Regions from separate parts of the Homo sapiens genome. Here region 2 is linked to region 1. The links are contacts of gene promoters, found by promoter capture Hi-C in human tissues and cell types (Jung and others, 2019). All regions are on one chromosome and are shown on one strand. Each heading gives the region's core, a stretch centred on a gene start or on the middle of the fragment in contact. The rest is flanking DNA. Distances are from core to core; before and after follow the strand shown. Region 1 holds the start of GNL2 (G protein nucleolar 2). Region 2 overlaps UTP11 (UTP11 small subunit processome component).

What was found. Contacts are between HindIII fragments. The study calls those that stand out against the background at their distance.
Region 2: a fragment that was not itself captured here is called in contact with the fragment with the promoter of GNL2 in region 1 in 1 of the 25 tissues and cell types used here (hippocampus).

What each region holds. Positions count from the first base shown.
Region 1 is chr1:37,593,154-37,598,648 of GRCh38, reverse strand. GNL2 (G protein nucleolar 2) reads left to right here and starts at 2,712. Exons shown (of 16, transcript NM_013285.3): 1 at 2,712-2,890; 2 at 4,803-4,887. The coding sequence starts at 2,827. RefSeq lists enhancers at 2,794-2,983, 3,154-3,213. The HindIII fragment of the contact is 8,299 bases long and covers 1,663-5,495 here.
Region 2 is chr1:38,020,929-38,026,423 of GRCh38, reverse strand. UTP11 (UTP11 small subunit processome component) reads right to left here. Exons shown (of 8, transcript NM_016037.4): 7 at 3,615-3,725; 8 at 1,604-2,879. The coding sequence ends at 2,796. Among named protein-coding and RNA genes, the nearest start is that of UTP11, 11 kb to the right of the region's middle. RefSeq lists an enhancer at 1-321. The HindIII fragment of the contact is 9,293 bases long and covers 1-5,495 here.

The sequences.
Region 1 (5,495 bases), core at 1,463-3,962:
AGTGAGCTGAGATCATGCCACTGCACTCCAGCCTGGTGAAAGGGCAAGACTCCATCTCAAAAAAAAAAAAAAAAAAAAGAAGAAAAATAGAAAGCATCCCATCTGCATGATGTGTACCATGTCTGCGATGCTTTCATATACTGTAACTCATATGATCTTATTGCAGTCTTTCAGAGTAGTTAAGCTATTGCATCTGTTTTAAAGCTGAGGAACTGTAGACCTGGAGGTGTATCTTGCCTCTGCTAGTTGGCATGACATCAGAAAAGAGAGTGAAAAATAGTCACTGCATTACAATGCGGCAAGCAGGGCAGGCAAATCAAACCAGTAACTTAAGCTTGACTTACCTTGATCAGGCTTTTTATCTGCTGGTAGAATTGAAGTTGGTTGTCGAGATCGGCAAATATTGTTGTAAAAGGATTGATGGGTCAGATTATAAAAATAGATGGAAAGTTTGTAAGATAAATGCAAGCAGAGTATGAGAACAGGAGAGAAACAACCCACCATATCATCTGGGAAAATGAAACTCCTTGGCAAGACTTCACAACAGCCTGATTCAAAATTTCATAATGAAATTATGTCTCTGATCAAAGCCTGAATGAGCTCATAGGCTGATTTTTGCCATCCGTGTTTATTCTGGTTTGCACCAACTTGAGGCATCAGAAACACATTAACTGAATCTTCTCTCTGGGAGGAGGCTATGGTATCCTTGTTTTGGGGATCAGAGGGACAGTGTGGGGTGGAAGGGGGCATCTTCACTGATCATGAAGTTTTTTCCAAATAGCTCTCAGAGCTTCCCTAACACAGGTCACAGTCAGGGCCTTCCCAGCAGAGCTGCATTTAATCTCATGATACTTGCCCTTGGGGCAATAAAAGCGAAGCTTGAGGGACAGAAGGTATTTCCAGCTCTAGCCTATGACATGGCCTGCTTTTGCTCTAAAGAGAATGTTTTGGGGTTTGTTTCAAACTCAGAGAAATAAAGACTCAATCATCCCCTGCTCAATTAGAATACCTCACTTTATAACAAATTGTTTGTTTTTATGAAATGAGCTACACTGCATGAATCCACCCTTCCTCTTGCCTAACCATCTCTTCTTTGGCCTATCCAGAGGGTACAAAGATGGCCATTTTCTGACAATTTGAGGTACCAAAAAAGAGAGAGGGACCAGGCGAGGTGGCTCACACTTGTAATCCCAGCACTTTGGGAGGCTGAGGCAGGTGGATCACCTGAGGTCAGGAGTTTGAGACCAGCCTGGCCAATGTGGTGAAAGCCCGTCTCTACTAAAAATACAAAAATTAGCTGGGCATGATACCATGCGCCTGTAATCTCAGCTACTTGGGAGGCTGAGGCAGGAGAATTGCTTGAACCCGGGAGGTGGAGGTTGCAGTGAACCGAGACCGGGCCACTGCACTCCAGCCTGGGCAACAAGAGCGAGACTCCGTCTCAAAAAACAAAAACAAAAACAAACAAACAAAAAATAAATTGTAAAAAGAGAGAGGGCTTCTTGGTTCAAACACTGGCATCTAGACACTTTATTCTGGCTAGTAGAAACAGAAATCACTGGGTCTTAATGCCTTCCTTCATCCTCAAGGCAAGAGACATTCCCATCTACTCATTCTTTCACTTAATGAATATTTTTTGAGTCCTTTGTTTCAGATGCTATTCAAGTCTTAAAGACACAGCAGTGAACAAATTAACAAGGTCCCTGCTTTTAAGAATCTTACATTCTAGTTTGGGGGAAGCAGCCAATAAACTTGTAAAAAAAATTCAACTAGTGATAAATGCCATGAAATAAATAAAACAGAATACTGTAACAGAATAACTGTGAAAGGGTGAAAGGTGGCTGATTTAGACAAATTAGACAGGAATGAGTTCTCACAGCAGGAAGGGTCACCAGATAAAATACAGAACGTACAGTTACATTTGAATTTCAGGCAAACGATGAATACTTTTTTAGTCTAAGTATTTTCCAGGCACTGTTGGAGGTGTACTAAAGAAAAGTATTCATTTTTTTTCTCTGAAATTCTAATTTAATTTGGTGTCCTGTATTTCTATTTGCTAATTCTTGCAGGCCTACCAATAGGTGATATTTGAGCTTAGGATTGAATGACAGCTATGCAAAGATTCTGGGAAAGAGTGATTCAGGCAGAGAGAATATCCAGTGTAAATGTCAGAATAACCAGAGGGAGGGACGTACACATGAGATTAGATAAATAGGCAGGCAGGGGCCAGATCACAGAATCCTGTAGGGATGGCAAAAAGTTTGAATCAATCTCTGTCTCTGTCTGTTTCTCCCTTCTCCCTTCCCCTACCTCTCATTCTAAGAGTGATGATAAGCCACTGGAGTTGTAAGGAAGAGAATGACACCTCCTAACGGATATTTGGCTGCTGTGTGGTCGGCAACTTTTGGAAGGACTTAGAAGACAAATTCAGAAGACAAACTTAAGCTTGTGCCACTGGCCTGGGAAGAAGCTTCTTTATTCGGAGGTGGACCCAACTGGGAGCTCTGGCCGCGCGTTCAGGTTAACTAGGCGGTTGCTATGAACGGGCAGCTTGGCGGTTGCTAGGGCTGGAGCGGGCTGGGGCTCCACGCAGGGCGACGCCTAGGCGGCTGGAGCGGGGGCGGAGCCAGGAGGGTGACGGCGCGCGCCGCGCGTTCACAGGAAGTCGCTCTGAGGCCGAGAGGGACGCGAGCGGAAGTGACGTACGTCGTGCACACGTGGTCCGGCGTGGTTCAGGCGGGTGTCTTCGGCCGGGCTTGGGAACATAAAAGTTTGTTTCACCACGTAAGCCGGACCTCGCACTCCGGTCCCGGTCTCGTCGCCAAGATGGTGAAGCCCAAGTACAAAGGACGGAGCACCATCAACCCGTCCAAGGCCAGCACAAACCCAGGTACAGGCGGCAGGGCTGATCGAGGGTGGAGCTTGGAGGAAGTATAGGGAAGGGCTCCGAGGAGCACTGGAGGGGAAGGAGGGTTACTCGAGTGGCATTGCTTAGAATGACTACGAGCGGGGTGGCTGTTGGGGATGAAAAGGGAAAAAGGAAAGCAATATTTGTGGTGGTTTCTTCTCAGGGGGGAACTGAGGAGGGCTCAGTGCACGCCTGGCAGGCCAAAGTGTAGTCAACTGGTCTGAAGTCAAGGAAAGTGAACACTCAGGCTGACAGCCTTGGGTCCTCTCCAGTTGAGAGATGCAGAGAAAGTCAGATTAAAAATGGTGTAGGTTGACCCTTCGGGCCTTTTACACGTGATCATACTTGCCTGCCACCTTAGCTTTGACCTTTAAAATGAGAAAGGGCTTATAGTTTTGGCCCTTGGAATTATTCTATCTGGTAAAGTGCTTAGAGAACCCTACAAAGAAGTCAGTATGATCATTGCAGTAAGGCTGTTTAGGAGATGTGTGTAAGTTTTGGCGAGGTTCCACCTGTACGATTAACAAGACATCCTATGGGAGAGTTCCTTCCATTCAGGTTTAATTAATAAAACTTTGTTTTAAAATATGGTTTAGAATTTTTGACAATTTTAATGCAAGTTGAATGTTTATTCCGGATTGATAATAAATTATTCACTTTGCACAAACTGGAATCTCAGAATGTTAGACCCCAAAAGGCCCTTAGAGATTATGATTTTACAGGTGAAGAGACTGAATCAAAATACAGGAAGTGGCCTGTCATAATTGCAACAGTTAGTGAGTAGTAGTAGAGCCGCCAGTTTCTACTGTTAGAGACTGTTAGGAGAGCCAATGGGCTGTGGTTTCAGCCTGTCTTCTACTGTATCACTTCAGGACCAGACAGGTGATTTAAGGGGCTCCTGGCCAGGTGTGGTGGCTCACGCCTGTAATCCCAGCACTTTGGGAGGCCGAGGCGGTCGGATCACCCGAGGTCAGGAGTTCAAGACCAGCCTGACCAACATGATGAAACCCCCTCTCTACAAAAATACAAAGATTAGCCGGGCATGATGGCGGATGCCCGTAATCCCAGCTACTCGGGAGGCTGAGGTGGAAGAATTGCATGAACCGGGGAGGTGGAGGTTGTAGTGAGCTGAGATCGCGACACTGCACTCCAGCCTGGGTGACAGAGCACGACTCTGTCTCAAAAAAAAGATAATAATAATGAATAAATGAATAAATAGGTAAATAAAGGGCTCCCAAAATGAGAAGCTAGGCTAGTATTACCCTATTCGTTTGTCCTTCTCTTTCTCTTTGAGATGTAAGGCAAGAATTGCTGTGTTGATTAAACAAAAATCAAACATTAAGAAAGTAAGAACACATATATCAAAATTATAGTCTCCATGGTGCCTTGCATGGAGCAGGCACTCAATATTTGTTAAACTGAGACACAGAGGTAGGTATCTTCGTGGTTAAGACCATAGATGGTGATCAAATGCTCATGTACAAATTCTGGCTCTGCCATTTAGTAACGGTTTGACCTTGGGCAAGGTGTCTGACCACTGTGCCTCAGTTTCTCACTCCGCAGCATGGGGATAATATATCTATAGGATTATTGTATAGATTAAATCAGATGATGCCTATAATTTGGATAACACAGTGCCATCATAAGTGCTCAAAAATATTAGCTATTCTTCTCAAATACAATCCTATCGAAGATCAAAGATTGGGTCAGCTTTGTCATACCATGTAGCTTCAAGTACTAATTATTGGAGCAACATATGGAGAAAGTAGAGATTTTTGTGGTTGGTGGCTTCTTACCTAATTTGGGTGAACTACTTGTTGCATTTTAAGCAATGACTTGTTGGTTATACTGGTTGGTTATCAAATAGTGCACTGTGTACTTCTGCCTTTTGTAGATCGAGTGCAGGGAGCAGGAGGCCAAAACATGAGGGACCGGGCCACCATCCGGCGCCTGAATATGTATAGGCAAAAGGAGCGCAGGTGAGCACTGGGTGCTGTCATCCTTTCTCTTTTCCTTCATGCCCTTGACTGCTAGCTGAGACTGATGAAGCCTTTGCTGTTCTCACCCCCACTTCCTCCAAATAGGAGTTATATATTCTCAAATATAATTGTACGTGAGTGTCGTTAGGATAAAGTGTTAACTTTTGGTTAAGGACATGGGTAGCTGGCGGTGAAATAGTGATGGTTTCACAATACTCAAAAGTAGAGGTCTTGTTTCTCACAGCCCTGACCTCCACAAATGGCGCATTAAATCTCAGAGTTAAATATGGCCAGATATAACAAAACCTACAGGACTGTAGTTAGGAAAGCCACCAGAAAATGTGTTTTTTAATGCCAAAATGTAGATCATGACATTGTGGCACTTGGACAGTCATCAAAACTCCGAGTTCTGCTGAGGTAGCCTCTACCACAGGGATTTGCTGAGTGTGGCATTCCGCTAACTGGTCTTAATTTGTTTGGTAATTAGATTCTCCATCTCCGTCTGTCCTAAAAGATGTGACTAAAATACAAATGTCAAAGAACTTAATATGTGTAGTCATCTACTTTGCAGTTTGTTTTAGAATTTGGAATTCCGGCGTAAATCACCC
Region 2 (5,495 bases), core at 1,903-4,402, 430 kb before region 1:
GATGCAGCAACAGACTAAGACTGAGCCAGGCTTACTGAATTCTCTGTTGGACAGACCTGAAGGGTCCACATCACCATAGAACTGCTGTTTGGAGACTTGGTTTGTACAAGAGACCTGAGCCAAACAAGTCCTGACTCAGAAAATCCCTCCAGCTCCATAGGCTGCCCACAGCCCCCTTGGCACAGCTAGAGCAGTATGCCACCAACAGCCCAAATCACCCCTAGGCCAAAAAGGGCGGCTAAGCAAACAATACTCTTCCCTCCCCAACAAGCCAAGAGTCTAGGGTCCCACTGAGTACCAAAGCGGCAAAGCCCTGGCCAATTCTCAGAATACATGGGGCTGGGGCCTGTCTTTGCTTAGTCACAGGGACAGCCAATCTCTTTGCTTAAAATCCTTGAGTCTTGGAGACAGCACTCAGTGTAACAGCAATTCAGAACACCCAGCTCCCCTTACAGCACTCCGATTACCTTCAGCCTGGAACTCACAGTACACCAAAAGGATGCACTTTCCTGCTCCATTTGGCCTGGGAGTGTGGCTCTTCAAACGTCACTGTTTGTGCTCCTGTGCCAGACGGTGTGTAGGTATGCCTGTACCTGTTTATGAGGCCTGAGTTATATGTGCCTTGTGCATCTGTGAACATGAGATTCCATGAGGCGAGCCTACCTTCATGTGGGTGTGTGGTTCGTGAGAAGGCATTTAGGTCTATTCCCTATCCTCTCCCCCACTTTCCCACCCAGCAGGGGCAAGAGACGGAGCAGCAGCATCCAGCTGTTTGACCCCAGGATCAGACTGCTGCTTAGTCTGCTCACTCCCCTGTCTAGTATCACTATGATGAGTCCCTTCCCTGGTTTGATCCTCAAGTCTCTAAAACTTTCAGCATTGACTGAGCTCAGCACCTCCCCAGAAGGGAGTGCATACACACAATGGGAAGCATTTCCTTCCTGAAGGCAAAACCTACTGGTTTCTGTTTCCTGACCCTTCTTGCTGTTTTCCAGGGCCCCTGATTTAAATTCCACTGGGTACACCCTGAGGAAACAGGCTTCTAGTCTAGGCTTGTACAGGAAGCTCACAGTCATGGGCACTTATTAAGCATTAACAATTTTCTTTTAAAGCCTTACAATCCACACATGGCTGTTCTCCCTCCTTGGTGTAAGGGCTACGCAAGCCCCCCAGAACCCCGCTCCCTGTTCTCCCATGTTTGCTCTAAGCATGTTCAGTCCTGTCCTTACTGTCCTTGGCCTATAATCCTGATATGGGCAAACAAAGGAAGGAGAGAACCAGAGAAGAGAAAGAAGCTGGCCAACACACCCAGGGGTCCATATTCCCAGAGTGAAGGTCTGCACCAAGCTATTCTAGCCTTGGAATTGTGAGTTGGCATGGAGTGCAGAGGACAGAGACACAGCCAGGCCTATACTGATTTGAGCTTCATCAATAAGGAAGAGGTGCTCCCGTAGGTTCCTTGTTCCAAGAGTTTCTATCTGCAGCTGTTAAGTAAGAGAAAAAAATTCCTCCTTGGATAATTTATGAAGCCACCTGAATAGCCAATAAAAGAAGAATGAGTGAGGGTAAAATCAGTCTATCCACTAGATAAAACACTATGCAATCATTAAAAATAATATTTATTTTAACGTTTACTCTAGCATATATTACTGTAAAAAACTTTTGTGATGTAACAAACTGGGAAAGAGCTAATGATTTAATTAAAAAGTAGGACATCGGCCGGGCGCGGTGGCTCACGCCTGTAATCCCAGCACTTTGGGAGGCCGAGGCGGGTGGATCATGAGGTCAGGAGATCGAGACCATCCTGGCTAACAAGGTGAAACCCCGTCTCTACTAAAAAAATACAAAAAAAAATTAGCCAGGCGCGGTGGCGGGCGCCTGTAGTCCCAGCTACTCGGGAGGCTGAGGCAGGAGAATGGCGTGAACCCGGGAAGCGGAGCTTGCAGTGAGCCGAGATTGCGCCACTGCAGTCCGCAGTCCGGCCTGGGCGACAGAGCGAGACTCCGTCTCAAAAAAAAAAAAAAAAAAAGTAGGACATCAAATTGTTTACTGTAACTATAAAACACAAAAACATGGACAAAAAGTGATGCCTCGTTTTACAAAATGGAGGAAATCAACTAGACTACTCACAGTAATTGTCCACCTCCACAGCTCTAGCTCCTAGCACAGTTAAGCATGCAATAAATATTTGTTATTATTGAATAAGCACTGGGATTAGGAATGAATTAATCTACTTTCCAAATCTGCTGTAATGAGATCCTATGTTTCATAACAAAAAAAATTATGGGCTGGGCATAGTGGCTCATCCCTGTAATCCCAGCCCTTTGGGAGGCCAAGGTGGGAGGATCGCTTGAGGCCACGAGTTCAAAACCAGCCTGGCCAACATGGCAAAACCTGGTCTCTACAGAAAATTTAAACATTACTCAGACATGGTGGCACATGTCTGTGGTCCCAGCTACTCAAGAGGCTGATGCAGGAAGATCACTTGAGCCCAGGAGTTCAAAGTTGCAGTGAGCCATAATCACACACTGCACTTCCAGCCTGGCAACAAAGACCCTATCTCAAAGAAAAAAAAAATTAAGTATATAAAAATAAGACTAATTTCACAATCCAAAAACAATTACAGAAGGGAGGGAGATTTAATGTTGTCCATAGAAAGACATTAAATGTCAGACTGACAATTTAGTTATGGTTACAAACCGGAAAACCATGCCATTTGGAGTAATGGAATTTGAAGTTACTAGAAAACGACAACAGATTTTTGATACAGAATGACAAGGCTTATCTATAACACGTCAACGTTTTCGACGACTCTGAAATTTATAAATAGCTGGGGAGTTCACCGTTTCTTTCTTCACCTTCACTTTCTGAGTTTTATCCTACAAAAGAGTAAAAAGGTGATCAGTAAAGAGAAGGAAATGGTTTTGTAAAATCGAAAGGTTAATAAACTACCTATTAGCACCTGCTTCAGCCCTTCTCAAAGTTGAGAACGGACACAGCCCTACTGCCCAAGGCATCCACTGTAGGCAATGAATTAACTTCTCCCCTAGGCATCTAGAAAGTACTAGCTGTGTACAGTCCTAGGAAAACTGAGAAGAAAGGTGTTCAAGTAGTTGTTTCATTTAAAATTATAATTTTAATTCTCTCACGGAACCCCAGTTGAGAAAGGCTGACCTAAATGATCTACAAAGCTAAAGAATTTGACATTTAGAGGAATGATAAGAATATGAAAGAGGCATCTTATATTCCTCAGCTCTGCTATTTAACTACACAATGTTGTCTATTTTTAAACACCAATGAGTGACATGCACTGTTTTGTTAACCTGTTTAAATGTTACGGGAGCTGCTCATAAGCTATAAAGTTCATATGCTACCCGATCCTACCCTTTGCTGTTCCAAAGCACTGACTAATAACCCCCTTATTACCTCCTTAATCAAGGCGCATTTCAACACTGTCAGAGTAACAGACACTGGCTCAAACCACTGCCCCTGAGGAGCAGACATTTTCACTGGGGTTGATTTACACACAGCTGAAATCTAGTCTGAGTTAAGACCTTTACAAGAAAGAAAAGGGGGAAAAAAAAAAAAAGAGGCCTAAGGCTCTCTCTCCTCACCATAAGATCTTTGCGTGTTTGAATTTTCTGAGCAATAACGAACAATTTCTTCTCTCGTTCAATCCGCTGTGTCAGGCAGTTATACTGCTTTTGCCTTTCTTTAGCTATTCGCTGGAGAAGAAACACACACATTCTCAGTGAACAATGAACAGGACAAAAATGAGTAAGAAACTGTTTCTTAATCCATTTAAGCCAACTGCATAGTTTCATCAACTCCCTTCTTTCACCAGAATCAACATAACGTGGTAACAATAACGTTGCCCATTTTAGGAACATCACATTCTGGAGCTGAAAGGAACCCTGGGCCAGACGCAGTGGCTCACGCCAGTAATCCCAGCACTTTGGGAGGCTGAGGAGGGAGGGTCACTTGAGCCCAGGAGTTCCAGACCAACGTAGGCAACATAATGAGACTCTGTCTCAAAAAAAAAAAATTAAAAATTAAAAAAGGAACCCTGTAGACTATCTTATCGAAACCCGTCATTTACAAACGCAGAAAAATGAGGCCCAGAGAAGAAGTGGTCCAAGGACACACAGCTCACCTGGAGCAGAGTCAGGACCGTCCCCCTCTCACAAATCCCAGGAATCTTTCCACTACTACACTAAGCTGCTTCAACCTTTGTGTGAGTGCCACAGTCACCTGAGATGATGGCAGGAATGAATCAGTGTTGGAAACCCTATACAAAGTGAATGGAGAGCAACAGAAGAGTCGGCAACAGAAGGGTCCCCAGGCAGTGTGCTGGTGCCTGAAAATCTTACCACTCAGAAAGCAGAAGAATTTTTTCAGCAGAAGCTCACCTGAGAATTCTCACTGCTAATGACTCCTCAAAGATCAGTGGGGTCCTTACATTTTGGGGAATCATCAACCTCAGAGAAACTGATGAAAGCTTTGGGATCTTTCTTCTTTTTTTTTTTTTTCTGAGGCGGAGTCTTGCTCTGTCGCCCAGGCTGGAGTGCAGTGGCACTATCTCGGCTCGCTACAACCTCCGCCTCCTGGGTTCAAGCAATTCTGCTGCCTCAGCCTCCCTAGTAGCTGGGATTACAGGTGCCCGCCACCACGCCTGGCTAATTTTTGTATTTTTAGTAGAGACAGGGTTTCACTACATTGGCCAGGCTAGTCTCGAACTCCTGACCTCAAGTGATCCACCTGCCTTGGCCTCCCAAATTGCTGGGACTACAGGCATGAGCCACCACGCCCAGCATGGGATGTTTCTTGAGATAAATGTACATACACATTTGTAAAAGGTTGTGCAAGCACATATACCTATCTGCACAAAATACCAGTGAGAAAGGGGGGTTTTCTCAGACCTCCTAAAGCTCACTCATGGGTTGTCTACCCACTCGAAGTTACAGACAAAATATCCTTGCAATCCACCCACCAGCAGTCTCTTAATAAAAATGATTTTGCAGTAAACAAAATAGAAAGAAACATAATTACTAGACAAAAATGGCAAAAATCTAAACCTCCCTAACTTCTCAAAAGCTATGCTGGTGAACTATTCTACATGGGAATTTGGAATACTAATCTCTTTAGGGACTACCACAATTCTTGAGAAGCGTCAGTGACACGGCTAATTGAAAGTACACCTAATTGCCGGGCGCGGTAGCTCACGCCTGTAATCCCTGCACTTTGGGAGGCTGAGGTGGGTGGATCACAAGGTCAGGAGTTCAAGACCAGCCTAGCCAAAATGGTGAAACCCTGTCTCTACTAAATATACAAAAAATTAGCCAGGCGTGGTGGCGGGCACCTGTAATCCCAGCTACTCGGGAGGCTGAGGCAAGAGAATTGCTTGAACCCAGGAGGCAGAGGTTGCAGTGAGCCGATATCACGCCACCGCACTCCAGCCTGGGTGACAGAGTGAGACTCCGTCTCAAAAAAAAAAA